Linked DNA regions of Homo sapiens: all the other regions are linked to region 1. Evidence: promoter capture Hi-C in 16 types of primary human blood cells and fetal thymus (Javierre and others, 2016). All regions are on one chromosome and are shown on one strand. The core of a region is centred on a gene start or on the middle of the fragment in contact, and the rest is flanking DNA. Distances in the headings are between cores, read along the strand shown.

The links. Contacts are between HindIII fragments. The CHiCAGO score rates a contact against its expected background, and 5 or more counts as called.
Region 2: a fragment that was not itself captured here is called in contact with the fragment with the promoter of HTATIP2 in region 1 in 1 of 17 cell types (total B cells); the score reaches 8.7 in total B cells.
Region 3: the fragment with the promoter of CCDC82 here is called in contact with the fragment with the promoter of HTATIP2 in region 1 in 1 of 17 cell types (total CD4 T cells); the score reaches 5.1 in total CD4 T cells.

The regions. Positions count from the first base shown.
Region 1 is chr11:20,362,165-20,365,136 of GRCh38, forward strand. It overlaps HTATIP2 (HIV-1 Tat interactive protein 2), which reads left to right and starts at 1,550. Exons shown (of 5, transcript NM_001098522.2): 1 at 1,550-2,268. The coding sequence starts at 2,074. RefSeq lists silencers at 1,551-1,970, 1,757-1,899. The HindIII fragment of the contact is 1,649 bases long and covers 450-2,098 here.
Region 2 is chr11:124,954,132-124,957,103 of GRCh38, forward strand. CCDC15 (coiled-coil domain containing 15) reads left to right here and starts at 71. Exons shown (of 16, transcript NM_025004.3): 1 at 71-239; 2 at 593-778. The coding sequence starts at 602. RefSeq lists an enhancer at 1-274. The HindIII fragment of the contact is 1,363 bases long and covers 570-1,932 here.
Region 3 is chr11:96,388,662-96,391,633 of GRCh38, forward strand. It overlaps CCDC82 (coiled-coil domain containing 82), which reads right to left and starts at 1,251. Exons shown (of 10, transcript NM_024725.4): 1 at 1,183-1,251. JRKL (JRK like) reads left to right here and starts at 1,352. Exons shown (of 2, transcript NM_001261833.2): 1 at 1,352-1,412; 2 at 1,822-2,972. The coding sequence starts at 1,989. RefSeq lists a silencer at 1,165-1,424. The HindIII fragment of the contact is 1,223 bases long and covers 809-2,031 here.

The DNA.
Region 1 (2,972 bases), core at 300-2,799:
GGCAAAACTAATCTATGTTGATAGTGACCAGAAAGTGATTACCTCTGGAGTGGGGAGAGATTGCAAGAAGGGAATGAAGGCACTTTCAGGGATGGCAGACATGCTCTATATCTTGTTTTTGGTGGTGGTTATTTAGGTGTATATACAATCTCCTAAAATCATGGAACAGAACCTTTAGGTTCTGTACATTTTATTGTATATTAATTATGCCACAATTTTAAACAAAGGGGAAGAATAGACAGGGTACAATGAATAATTTCTGTGACAGATTTGATAAATGAATTACTAGGACAGTGTTTGCTGACAAGGTTTAACATTGCATTCTTGTAGAAAACCTTTAGGAACTCAAAGGGAAGAGTCCAGGCACTGTGACAGGCCAGTGGGGAATGAACCACACTGCTCTATATTAATCAAGCTTTTTTATTGCAAACAACAGAATATATCTGGTAAGCTTATACAGCACAGGAATTTATCAGAAGAATAACAGGAAGTACTGTATTCACAACAGTCTCTGAAAACAGGCAGGAATTTAAGACAAGATCAGACCATCAGATGGCTGGTGGATCATATGATGCCATAATCCTATACCCTTGCCCCAACCAACCCACATATATCTCAGGCCTTCACTGCATCTTTTCATTACTCCTCCAAAACTGAAAACCTATGCGTGAGCCTCTGGCTTGCTGAGCCTAGGCAAAGCCTACATATAATAACTCCCATGGAGATGGAAGAGGCAATGTGTTTCATTGGCTTCTAGATGGGAGGTGGGGCCCCCAAATGACCAATGTTCCCAACAAAACCTGAACAATCTGAAATTATTCAGATTTCTGCTTGTCATTCTAACCTCTGTTCAGGACTTCCAAGATCCAGGACAGGCCCAGTGTAGATACCTGTGTCCCAAACCACTGATCTGGGCTAGGAAGACTGAATCACAGGTGTGGAAGGTCACCCGGGTTCAACCATCTAGGTGATGAATTAGGCCAGGACCTGGGCAGGTAGACCATTTATTCTGGGGAGATATGATGCGAGCTTGAATTACATGGGAGAAATATTTGTAAGGCAGATGGGATAACAGGACTTGATAAGTCTGTAGTGTGGAAAGGCTAGAAAAGAAAGGAATCAAAGGAATCCTGATTTCTGACTTGACAGGGTAGAAGGAGGTGTGTGTGTGTGTGCGTGTGTGTGTGTATGTTTATGTAGGGACAGTGACACCCAAGAGAGGCTAGGAATAGGTTTGTTTTATTCCTGTTTGGGGTGGTTGGGTAGGCAGGGTTAAGTTTTTGACTTGGTGAATTTGAGATGATGGCCAATATACAATTGACATTCCAGCTGGGGGGACCATTGAAGATCAAGTCTGGCAAGTCTACTAGCTGGCGCCTGGGTGAGCTGAGCCCAGCAGGTGAGGGAAAACGCGGGAAGAGGGTCTTGCAGATTCCAAACTTAGGAAGGGTCGCGGCTCCGCGCACGTGCTCTCGGGGTCACCTTCCCCGCGCCTGTGAGGGTGCCAGGAGTTCGTCTCCAGGTCCCGCCCCTGTGGGCGGGGCGAGGCAGCGTCGCCGCGAGGCCACCCGGAAGACCAAGCCGGGTAGGCGCTGTCTCCGTCGCCTCCAACCCCCCCGGTCCGACCAGGGAAGGTGGGATGCTCTGATGGCCGGGCCTGCGGCGCTGAGCGCGGCGGCGGCGGCTGCTCTGGCGGCCGCCCTGCTCCTGCTGCGTCGTGAGGACCCGGGGCCGGGGGCTGGCCCCAGGTAACCCCTCCGCGTATGGGACCGAGCTGGGCCAGGTCTCCTGGCCGGGCCGGGGATACCGTGGGGTATGCCCAGTGATGCCAGCAGCTTGTGGCACCTGGGCGCACCCTCCAGCTCGGGCCCCTTCCGATGGGTCTGCTGGCTCAGGTGCGGGCGATGGCCGGGGAGCCGCGCCCCGCACGTGACTCAGCACTTTCCCCAGAGCCCGGACTGCGGAGAACAATATCCTCCTCCCTAACAGATAAACAGCCCTTGTTCCTCGGGATAAGGACTGGCAGTCCCCTGACACCCTAAGACCGGCATCTGTCGATGTTATTTCCCCAGCATGGCCGAAACAGAAGCCCTGTCGAAGCTTCGGGAAGACTTCAGGATGCAGAATAAATCCGTCTTTATTTTGGGCGCCAGCGGAGAAACCGGCAGAGTGCTCTTAAAGGAAATCCTGGAGCAGGGCCTGTTTTCCAAAGTCACGCTCATTGGCCGGAGGAAGCTCACCTTCGACGAGGAAGCTTATAAAAATGTGGTGGGTATTTCAGCTGGGACTCAAATGGACCCCCAGGATTCTGCGAGGTGAACATATTTCATGCCTAAAGGCTGAATACTGCCCTGCCAGTGGTGGGGGTAGTGAGAGGCCATCAAAACTTGGCCAAGATTGGTCTGTGAGAGTCCCTCCCAGAAGTCTGACTCCTGGATTGTAGCCCAGGTGTGCCTCCCTCCCGCTCATTGTGTGGTCTTGGGCAAAGCCCTTCTCTCCATCTGCAACCCTATAAAGCTGGGTCTGGGTTGTAATGGGGGTGGGGGCTGGTGAGACAGAAGAGCACTGTTTTCAGGGTCATACAAGCTGTATTCTAGAGGCAGCCCTGGTGACCTTGAGAATTTTCTCAGCCACTTTGCTGATTTTGTCAACCTGCGCACTTCACACTAATATTGTCAGGGATTCTGAAACTGCTTTGCAGAGTGAGATAGGTCTATGGCAGTGAAAGGTGGGATTATTCACTTACAAGAATTTGCCCTGCCTGACTTCCCAGGCTTGTGTCTGTAAATCGGATATTCCCTTCACTCTAAGTTAAAGGTTTTTTTTTTTTTTTTTCTGAGACGGAGTCTCACTCTGTCCCCCAGGCTGGAGTGCAGTGGCACGATCTCGGCTCAGTGCAACCTCTGCCTTTCAGGTTCAAGCGATTCTTCTGCCTCAGCCTCCCGAGTAACTGGAACTACAGGCGTGCGTCA
Region 2 (2,972 bases), core at 1-2,500, about 100 Mb after region 1:
GATGGGCGGGACGGAGCAGCCCACCGCAAAGTGGCGGTCTACTTGAGGCGGTTACCTTAGTACTCCGAGTAGACTGAGTCTGTGGCGAGCTGCGGGCCGATTCCTGGCCAGTGCCATCTCAGCCGGAGCAGGCCTCGGGGCCTCAGAAGCAGGCTTTTATCTGGCCCGAGGCTCCCAGCCGTTCAGCGCGTCTTCCCATAACCTATACCGATTATTGGGACTCTCGGCTGCAGACACAGGTCCCCGCCCCTCCCTCTTTCTCCGGGTTGCAGCTGTCATTCCTCCCTTCCCGCCTCGCTGCGCCCACAGCTGAGGACAGTCTTCGTTCTCTCATTCCCATCCTTTCTCTTCCCTCTCATCGCCATTTCTTCTAGAAGGCAACTTAAAAACCTTTCTTTGCCTCTTTATTTCTTCCCATTTCTCTTCCCTTCTTTTCTTCCTTTTTCTCTAGAATCCGTGTGTTTCCACTTCATGCCAGGCTTCTGCCTCCAGGGCTTCTCTCCTTTTCACGGGCCTGTGGCTCATGTGTTAGGAGGTTGAACTTTTAATGCAGTCATTTGAAGATTTTAAGCTTTTTCTTTCTCCTAATCAGGAGTCACAGATGCTGGGAAGTATGGCCCGAAAGAAACCTCGAAATACCTCAAGGTTGCCCCTGGCTTTAAACCCCCTGAAGAGCAAGGACGTGTTGGCAGTGCTGGCTGAGAGGAACGAGGCTATAGTACCAGTTGGGGCATGGGTGGAACCTGCCTCACCAGGTAGTTCGGAAATCCCAGCATATGTGAGTGTCAGTTTGATCCAAATATGGTGGGGTTCCCCACCACCCTTTTTATTAGCCTTCTCTAATCCTGGGTGCTTAAAGATGAACAGTCCGAGGATGCTGTTTCTATTCTGCCATAAATAGTTTATGCTCTTGCATTAGGATTATAGAACAAGTATTTGCCAAAACTTGACTGCAGCTTTAGTTGGCATAATCAAATATTTATTACTCACCTACTATAATATATAGAGCATAATCTACATGGAACAGGTTATATAGATATATATCTGTATATCAGTTTACTTCAGACTCTTGATTGCTTGTTATGCCCAAGACATAAGCACTATCTACATCTTCCAGACACTGCAACTTAGTATGGATGATAGTTGGCATACTTCAAGTAACATTAATTGGTTGCTTAAGGTTTATGATAAATTTTGTAATGAGGATTCAGGCAAAATGGAGTAATAGAATAAAGGAGAAAGAGATGAACTCTGATAATCTGAGAAAGTCTAACTAGAAATTCCATGGTTTCTGATAGTCTTTCACCAAACTGTGCCCCTTAGCTATTTGTTCAAATTTAACTTGGCACTTACCACATTGTGTTATAGTAGATTGTTTATATATCTTTTCCTGATGCAGTGTGAGCTCCTTGAGCGTAGAGAACAAATGTCATTTATCATCACATTCCCACTTTTATCTTAAATACTGCCTAATCAATATAGACACTCATGAAGTATTTATGAAAGGCACAAAATGTCTTCTGTATGTGTAGACAAGGTGCTGAACATGGATGAAAAAAGGATGAGATATGTTCCCTCAGTGTACTTGATCTCAGAAGAGAAATGAGATGTGTTTAAATGTTAAAGTAATGCAATATACTATATTCATTTTATTTATGTTTGCACATATGTATGTATATTCATTGATTTATTCCTACCCTGCCTATTTCCAAAAAGGATTTTAAGAGTCTAGGTGGTATCTCTATCTAAGTTCTAAGAATATAATGCTCAATCAAGAAGCTATGACGTTGGGTTGATGTGACCCAGGAAAGTGTAATGAAGAATTTGATCGGAGAAGGGAAGGGAATGATTCTCCTATTAAGGAGAATGAGGAGAGTAAGAAGTAAGCAAGGTTCAGGATTCTAAGGGTAGATTAGATCGATTGGAGTGGAAAGCTTAGTAGGAGAATGGTTGCTGACAGGATTATGGAAAATAGGGATGGTAGAGTACCTTAGGAAATTTTGGAGAAGGGATTGACTTTGTTTAATATTTACAGGTGAATGTCATGATCAACCAGTGTTTTCTTTAGATGAATTGCTTCAAAGGTTTTGAAGGATAGGGAGTGATTGGATCCTGGGGATAAATTAGAATATAATTATAATAATTTAAGCATGGAGTATAGCATCGAAACTTTGTTAGTGGTAAGAAATAGAGAAGAACAGCCTTGAAAAAGGATGATTGAAGTGCTTGAGCCCACGAATTGTAGGCTGCAGTGAACTATGATCATACTACTGCACTCTAGCCTGGGCAATAGAGTGAGACCCCATCTCTGGAAAAAAAAAAGGAGTGGAATGAGAAGGGATGAATGCAGGAAACACCCCACAAGACTTGGTAAGATTTGGTATAAAGATATTTTGGTATTTAAGTTGTTGACACCTCTTTGTAATTGCTCAAATTACATCTGTATAATATCAGTAGTGTCAACATGCCTAAAATTTGACACCATCAAACTTTTTCTATGTTAAGAAGTATTGACTATCGTATTCACACACATTAACTCAAAATATTAAAGTCTTGGAACATGGATAAACATATCTCCTTTTCCTGATTTAAAAATTTCTGATCAGTTCCAGCCAAAGGGAGTTTGATCAAGCATCTAATAGAACTCCTTATAGCTTTAGCATATCTAGTCTGGGTATCCACCCTTATTAACGGATATAGCTCTGTCAGCTCAAAATAAATGCTGAATAGTTACTTCTAAAGCTTGGCCCTTAGATCATGTCTGTTCTAAAGGGGAACTTCTACTCATTTTTCTCCCCAAAATTTCAGGGGGCCATCAGGATTCCTAAAAATGTCATAGCTTTAGACTACCTCCCCCCAATAATTATTAATAAATTAGCATCAAAAGACACTGCTGTTCTATCATCATATATGGGATTGCATTATTTTATAATTTGTTCTGGTTACCTTTTGCTGTGTAACCAACCACCCCA
Region 3 (2,972 bases), core at 1-2,500, about 76 Mb after region 1:
CTCAAGAAAAGATTCATTCTAGAAATCACCTACTTGCTGTATAAACAATGCAGGTGGTAGTTAACACTTTACAGATTTGAAAGGCAGTGGAACCCCAGGTCATTATTTGAAATTCTACCAGGAGGGATCCATTCTTGGGTGTAAAACATCACTCCTCTTCGATGTTTTCTTTTATATGGCAGTTTGGAGAGCAAAGATTAATAAGCCGAAAAATAATTATTGAATATCTACCAAAATGCAAGCACCTGCTAGGAACTGTGCTGCCACCATTTCAAATAAACATGGTCTCTGCTCCCAAGGAGCTCACAATCTGATGAAATTACTAGGGACACCAAAAACAAGCCAGCATAATACACGATTTGAGGGCTACAGTGTATGATTAAGATCAAGTTCTTATCACACTGCTATGAATAAATTTATCATAGTTCTTCTATTGGCAGGAAAACAAGACAGAACATGACAGAAATAGGATATAAGAAAATAAACATAAAGAGAGGAAAGCCTATTTCCCCCACTTAGAATCACAGTCCAACAGTCCACAATTTCGCAAAGTGGATCCTGCCAGCATGGTATCCGGGATAACTATATTATTCATTAAAATCCGTTAACAATGAAGGTTAATGCAGCAGGAATGAGTGGTAGACAGTGGAATAGATCCTCTCAGGAATTAACACCCGGAAGGGTGACTTTCATGATTACAAACCTCTTTGGCGGGACGCAGGAACCCAGCGCCCGCTAGCCCACTAGTCCGTCACTCTGCCTCCAGGAGGGAGGGGCACAGTAGCTAGGAAACCGGACCCTCAGGCCAAGCTTCGCGATGACGCGCGCAGGACGACGGAAACCCCCAGACCCCAAAAGAGCTCTGCACCGAGAAAACAATTACAAGGGTCTGGAAAGGCCAGAAACCCGAGAAATCACCAACCGAGCTCCCTACATCAGTTCCAAGCACCTCCCCAAGGCGGAAATAACGGGCACCGCGCCCACTGCAGCTCAGCTGAGGAGGGTTAGAGGCGCAAAGGGCTGAGGGGCGTTCTCCGGCCCACCCAAAGAGCGCCCGCGGGAATTTTTCTCTTAGTCCGCGAGGAGGCACGGCTTCCCCCGCCCCTCTCATAAACCATTAGCACCGGGAGCGCGAGCGAGTCCCAGCCGGGAGACAGCCCCGCACCGCCCTCGCGCTCTCACCTTTCAAAGCGCCTCCACCTCTGCCTCCGCCTCCGCCCCTGCCCCGGCAACCAGCTCAGGACAAGCGATGCTCCTCCCCCCCTTCCGGGGACCAAGGGAAGTCCCGCCTCTGGGTGGGGCGAGGGGTGGGGCCAGGCGGCGGGAGGGATCATCTTCCGGGAGCGTGGCTAGGGGCGGAGCGACTGCCGCGCGATAGTCAGGGAGCTGTGCGGGTCCTGGTTGCAAGAGAGGTGGGGAGAGGGGCCTGGCGGGTTTTGAGGGACTGGGAGGACTGTCCCGGCTAAAGCTGGCGCGGGAAACTGGGGCTGCGCGGCGGGAGGGCCCTGCTGCTGGGGAAGGAATCTAATATATCCGTTCCCCTGAGGAAGGGTGCCAGTCCTTGACTCCTAGGCTCTTCGGCTCTCTGTCGTAACTTTGGGGTGTGGCAGGGGTTAGTGACGCGCGGTTACCCGGGATCTGGACGTGCAGGAGGTTCGTGGCCACAATGGGGGTATAGTCTTTCTCACGGCTGCTGGGGTAATAAAACACATGCTTTTAATCCGGATTATCCGCGGTGACATGGGGCCTCCGCTACTGCCCGTATAAGTTAAAGAAAGGCCTGTTCTCTCAAACTTCCTCCTCTTTCACCTTCTTCTGCAGTCTATTTGCCAGCCAACCCCAGCCCGGGAGGGGATCAGGGCCACCAGGTTGCTGGTAAGGATGAAAGACTGAGTGTGTTAAGACTGTTGAAGTGAGCCTGTGTAAGAGAAGGAAGGATTTTGTGGATTGCTACATTGTGAGTGTGGGGTGAGTCCCAGAACCTCGCTATGTCAGGGAAACGGAAGCGTGTGGTGTTGACTATTAAAGATAAGCTTGATATAATAAAGAAACTTGAAGACGGAGGTTCTTCCAAACAACTGGCAGTGATTTATGGAATTGGTGAAACAACAGTTCGGGATATAAGAAAAAATAAGGAAAAGATTATAACTTATGCAAGCAGTTCTGATTCCACAAGTCTTTTGGCCAAGAGGAAATCTATGAAGCCATCCATGTATGAGGAATTGGACAGGGCAATGCTGGAATGGTTCAACCAGCAAAGAGCAAAAGGGAATCCCATATCTGGACCAATTTGTGCAAAAAGGGCAGAGTTCTTCTTTTATGCTTTGGGAATGGATGGTGATTTTAACCCCTCTGCCGGTTGGCTAACTCGTTTTAAGCAGCGGCACAGCATTAGAGAGATTAACATTAGAAATGAAAGATTAAATGGAGATGAGACTGCGGTGGAAGATTTTTGTAATAACTTTCGAGATTTTATTGAACGAGAGAATTTACAGCCTGAACAAATCTACAATGCAGATGAAACTGGACTCTTTTGGAAGTGCTTGCCTTCTAGGATTTCAGTAATCAAAGGTAAATGCACTGTCCCTGGGCACAAATCAATTGAAGAAAGAGTCACAATCATGTGTTGTGCCAATGCAACAGGTTTACACAAACTTAAACTTTGTGTTGTGGGGAAAGCAAAGAAACCTCGCTCCTTTAAATCAACTGACACCTTAAACCTGCCAGTCTCTTATTTCAGCCAAAAAGGTGCATGGATGGATCTTTCCATTTTCCGACAATGGTTTGATAAAATTTTTGTGCCGCAAGTTCGAGAGTATTTAAGATCTAAAGGCTTGCAGGAAAAGGCTGTGCTCTTGTTGGATAATTCACCAACACATCCAAATGAAAATGTCCTAAGGTCAGATGATGGCCAAATATTTGCTAAATATTTACCACCTAATGTGGCCTCATTGATTCAGCCTTCAGATCAG